Linked DNA regions of Homo sapiens: region 2 is linked to region 1. Evidence: promoter capture Hi-C in 16 types of primary human blood cells and fetal thymus (Javierre and others, 2016). All regions are on one chromosome and are shown on one strand. Each heading gives the region's core, a stretch centred on a gene start or on the middle of the fragment in contact. The rest is flanking DNA. Distances are from core to core; before and after follow the strand shown. Region 1 holds the start of TBC1D2B (TBC1 domain family member 2B). Region 2 overlaps TBC1D2B (TBC1 domain family member 2B).

Evidence for each region. Contacts are between HindIII fragments. The CHiCAGO score rates a contact against its expected background, and 5 or more counts as called.
Region 2: a fragment that was not itself captured here is called in contact with the fragment with the promoter of TBC1D2B in region 1 in 15 of 17 cell types (total CD8 T cells, activated CD4 T cells, naive CD8 T cells and 12 more); the score reaches 11.7 in total CD8 T cells.

The regions. Positions count from the first base shown.
Region 1 is chr15:78,076,394-78,079,046 of GRCh38, forward strand. TBC1D2B (TBC1 domain family member 2B) reads right to left here and starts at 1,318. Exons shown (of 13, transcript NM_144572.2): 1 at 900-1,318. The coding sequence starts at 1,259. RefSeq lists silencers at 794-993, 1,194-1,403, 1,554-1,603. The HindIII fragment of the contact is 13,244 bases long and covers 1-2,653 here.
Region 2 is chr15:78,009,352-78,012,004 of GRCh38, forward strand. All of the region lies in intron 9 of TBC1D2B (TBC1 domain family member 2B), which reads right to left. Among named protein-coding and RNA genes, the nearest start is that of TBC1D2B, 67 kb to the right of the region's middle. The HindIII fragment of the contact is 474 bases long and covers 1,061-1,534 here.

The DNA.
Region 1 (2,653 bases), core at 68-2,567:
CCACTCTGGAGGAAAATGTAGTGGACTGTCTCTAAGGGCCCTGCCATCTGACTCTTTCTGTCTACAGTGCTAAATGCACTCTGGCTCACGCCTGGCATCCCAGCACTTTGGGAAGCTGGATGGGGAGGATGGTTTCGGCCCAGGAGTTCGAGACTAGCCTGGGCAACATAGTGAGACCCCCGTTTCTTTAAAAAAAAAAAAAAATTTAATTAGCCAGGCGTGGTGGCCCGCACCTGTGGTCCCAGCTACTTGGGAGGCTGAGGTGGGAGGATCTCTTGAGCCCAGGCATGGAGGCTGCAGTGAGCCGAGATCGCACCCCTGCACTCCAGCCTGGACAACAGAACAAGATCCTGTCTCAAAAAGAATAAATAAACAAATAAATAAAAGCACTGACATTTACTGAGCAGTTTAAAGTATAATTCATTTAATCCCAACACCCCATGAGGTAGATACTACTGTTATCCCATTTTACAGAGGAGGCCGCTGCAGCCCAGAGCGGTTCACTGAGGTACCAAGGCCATAGGCAAAGTTCTAAAGGAGGCCCCAGGGGTAGAAGCCTACGCTCACGGATGCCTGGGAAGGCTGCACAGGACATCCACGGGATGGTGGGGGTCGGGAGACACCAGAGACTGGCCCGAGGTTAGGCGCAGAGGGAGATAATGGGTCAAGGTGTCTGAGAAAGGAGACGGGGCTTGGTAGCCCCAGCGAGACTGGCCTAAGCCCAGATAGTGGGGAGGAGATAGGAACGAGGGCGGGATGTGGAGAAGCAGGGAAAGGCAGGCCGACGTGGGCAGGGGCGAGGAGGCCTTGGAGGAAGGAGGGTGGATGGCGCAAGCCAGTGGCGGAGGCAGGGGACGCCGGCGGAAGCGCGCGGGCGGCTTTGGGGCGAGCGGTCCCACCTTGAGCACCGTGACGGCTCCCGCGCTGTGCACCTGGAAGTGCGCGGGCGGCTCCGTGCCCGGCTCCGCCGCCTCGTCGGGGCCCTGGTAGCTGAAGCAGGCGTCCGCGATGTCCAAGTGGCCGAGGGGCAGCGCGTCCTGCGGACTCTTGAAATAGTAAAGGTAGCAGCGGCGCGCGTCGAACACGAACCAGCGGCTGCGGTAGCCACGCAGGGGGCCCTTGCCCGACAGCTTCTGCAGATAGCCACACAGCCGCGCTGGCTCCCGCGCCGGACCCGCCCCGGGCTCCGCGGCCGCCCCCTGCGCCGCGCCCTCGCCGCCGCCGCCGCCCTCCTCCGCCCGGGCTCCGGCCCCCGGCATCGCTACCGCGCGCCAACCGTAGGCGCCCGCGCCCTGCGCCTCCGCGCCGCGGCCGCTGCGCCCCCTACCCCCTCCGCACCGCCCCTTCGCTCCGCACGGCCCGCGGGCGCGCAAAGCACCCTGGGACTTGTAGTCTCGCCCCCGCCCGCCCGCCGGCCGTTGCCCCCTCAGCCCCCGGAGGCAGGGTCCTGCGACCAGCACCCCGCGGGTCAGTTGCCTTCGTGCCACCTGGGCTCCAAGTCCTCGCCCTGCCGGATGAAGCAATGGTCTATTTCTTTATGGCAGTGTAGGTACATGGGAGTGTGCATCTCTCAAAACCCAGCGGAGTGTCCGCTTAAAACTGCATTTCACACTGTGTATCTTATTCTAAAAACTTGATATTTAAATCTCCCTCCTGCCAGAGTCTCAAGCTAATATTGTAAAAATGAGACAGCCTATTGCCTGGTGCTGAGTGGGTGCTCAGTAAATATTTGCAGAATTCATGAAAGCCAAAGCGTTTCCTGCCTCTCCAGACCTCAGTTCATTTATTGAATTCAACATATATTTATTGAGCGCCTTCTGAATGCCGGGTACGGTTCTGTATGCCAGGCCCTGGCGGATACAGCAGTGAACAAACCAATCATTCTCCTGCCCTCGTGGAGGTTATATTCTAGTAAGGCAGGGAGGTGACACACAAGAAAGCAGATAAAAGTAATGTGTGCTATGTTGTATAAATGCCGTGATGACATGTAAATGATTACCGCTTAAAATAGCACCTAGTATTTATCAGTGCTTTATAGACTAACTTATTTGAACACTCACAACCTGAGAAGGCAAATCTATTGCTTTGTAATAAAGCAAAGAGAAAGAATGAATAAGACCAAGTATTTGCTAGCACAACAGGGTGACTACAGTCAAAAATAATATAATTGTACGTTTAAAAATAACCAAAAGAGTATAATACAGACGCGGTGGTTCACGCCTGTAATCCCAGCAGTTTGGGAGGCCGAGGTGGGTGGATCACCTGAGGTCGGGAGTTCGAGACCAGCCTGACCAACATGAAGAAACCCTGTCTCTACTAAAAATACAAAATTAGCTGGGCGTGGTGGTGCATGCCTGTAATCCCAGCTACTCGGGAGGCTGAAGCAAGAGAATCTCTTGAACCCCGGAGGTGGAGGTTGCAGTGAGCCGAGGTTGCGCCATTGCACTCCAGCCTGGGCAACAAGAGCAAAACTCTGTCTAAAAAGAAAAAAAAAAGTATAATAGGATTGTTTGTAACACAAAGGATAAATGCTTGAGGTGATGGATACCTTACTTACCCTGATTTGATTATTATGCATTGCATGCCTGTATTAAAATATCTCATGTAACCCATAAATATATACACCTACTATGTTCCCACAAGAATAAAAAAT
Region 2 (2,653 bases), core at 48-2,547, 67 kb before region 1:
TAGCAAGACTCCATCTCTAAAAAAACAAAAAACCAAAAATCAGCCAGGAGTAGCGACGCACACCTGTAGTCCTAGCTACCCAGTAGGCTGAGGCAGGAGGATCACTTGAGCCCAGGAGGTGGAGGCTACAGTGAATGATAATCGCACTACTGCACTCCAGCCTGTGCAACAGAACAAGACCTTGTCTCATTAAAAAAAAAAAAGGAGGGGGTGCATTTCCTAAAATTTGAGAAGCAAAGCTACTTTTCCCCACTTTCATTTGGTTTTTGTTCAAAGATGAAATTGTTTCCCAATGATCAGCCAGCCTCATTAAAAAAAAGTTTTCATTATAAGATTTTTGCGGCTGGGCGCAATGGCTCACGCCTGTAATCCCAGCACTTTGGGAGGCCGAGGCGGGCAGATCACGAGGTCAGGAGATTGAGACCATCCTGGCTGACACGGTGAAACCCTGTCTCTACTAAAGATACAAAAAAATTAGCCAGGCGCGGTGGCGGGCGCCTGTAGTCCAAGCTACCTGGGAGGCTGAGGCAGGAGAATGGCGTGAACCCGGGAGGCAGAGCTTGCAGTGAGCCGAGATAGCTCCACTGCACTCCGGCCTGGGCGAGAGAGCCAGACTCCGTCTCAAAAAAAAAAAAAAAAAAAGATTTTTGCAAATGCAGCTGATTCTTTGAGTTCATCAAGAAGTTCCAAATAACCCTTTTATGCACAAAAATTCCAGATGTGAATGTAAGTAACAAAGAATACAGAATGGTTTAAAACAGCTTTCCCAACACCATCCTGCTTCCAGGCTGAAGGAATAAAATGGGCTGCAGATGAGGGCACCCCAAAGGAGCTAACAGCGCTGTGCCCACTGCATGCACAGCAGGGGAAGAGGACCATGTGTCTCACTTGCTTTGTTGTTCATAACGGAAACTGGGGTCAGCTATTTACATGCTGTCACTAATCAATAGCCCTGGTATGGCTCCAAGCGGGAATCTGGAGCAGCAGGATGGAAAGGAAGAGGTGAGAGAAAGGCCTCCCTCTACTCAGCTGAAATCCAAAACTTCTGCCCATCACACGAAGCTTATAAGCAACACTCATGGGAAAATCCCTGAAGCCATTTCTCAGAATATTTTTCTTAGATAAAACTATAATGAACTCATCTCAAATTAAATGGAAAAAAAGTCCAGGAAGGGGATGTCTCAAGTATGCAGGGATGGGATGGAAAGGAGAATGGTGACCACTGGCAGAGACAGAGGAGAGAAAAACAAGACACGCAAGCAGAGACACCAAATTGAGAGACAGGACTCGATGGCGCCAGGAGAAGGGGTAGAGAGTCTGAAAGCGACAGAGCCTTTGAGGACATCACTTAAATTCACCAATATTCCAGATGACAGGTCTGAATCACCATCATCTAGACAAGGCTACAGTTGTCCTTCTAAAGTTCTGGGTGCTCAGAAGCCATGAACATGTACCAAATACTGTGAAGAAAAAAATCCCAAAGAATTACAATTCAGAGGTTTTAACGGTGGTGAGGGCGGAAGTGTAGACAGAAAGCTTCAATTATCTGGAAGTGTCATTTATGTAGGAAAAAACTGATTCCATGACAATGCCAGATAAATGGAGCATTACTGTACCCCAAACAGGCATACTCAAGTCCTCACCAGGACCCTGAGTTTCACGGGTTTCCAGCTTCCAGGAATTTTTAGATTGAGTATGCAATGTGAATGGTGGCTTTAAGCAAAACAAAACTGCTTTATTAGGCAGGATCCTACTTACAGGCTTTTTAAAAGTGGAGACTGTCTAGGAGTAGCTATAGTCCCTTTCACCTTCTGAGGGCACATAGAGAGGCTGCCCTATCCTCACCACCACAGAGACAATGACTTACTGAAAACCATTTGGTTTCAGGTCTTAACCAAATAACATTCCAGCTTAAAATCCTTTCTTCCTGCAGTACTCTCATTTCAGACACAAATAGAAAACCCTTACCTGGAGGTCAATACCTGGCATGGAGCAGGAGCAAAAAAGGCCTGTGGGCAGCCATAACAAACGTCAGCACTCAGAACTCCAGCTCATGCATGGCTTACAGAATTCCTAAGGTACACATGCAGAACTTTTTCATTCTTACTTTATCCATATCTTTTTTTTTTTTTTTTTTGAGACAGGGTCTCACTGTGTTGCCCAGGCTGGAGTGTAGTGGTGTGATCACAGCTCACCGCAGCCTCAACCTCCTGGGCTCAAGCGATCCTCCCACCTCAACCTCCCAAGTAGCTGGGATTAGAGGCACATGCCACCATGCCCAGCTAATTTTTTGGTTTTTTTTTTTTTTTTTTTTTTAGACAGAGTCTCGCTCTGTTGTTCAGGCTGGAGTGCAGTGGTGCAATGCTGGCTCACTGCAACATCTGCCTCCCGGGTTCAAGTGATTCTCTTACCTCAGCCTCCCGAGTAGCTGGGATTACAGGCATGTGCCACCGTCTGGCAAATTTTTGTATTTTTAGTAGAGACAGGGTCTCACCATATTGGCCAGGCTGGTCTTGAACTCCTGACCTCAGGTGATCCGCCTGCCTCGACCTCCCAAAGTGCCAGGATTACAGGTGTGACCCACCGCACACAGCCAATTTTTTTGTAGGGACGGGGTTTCACCATGTTGCCCAGGCTGGTTTCAAACTCCCGG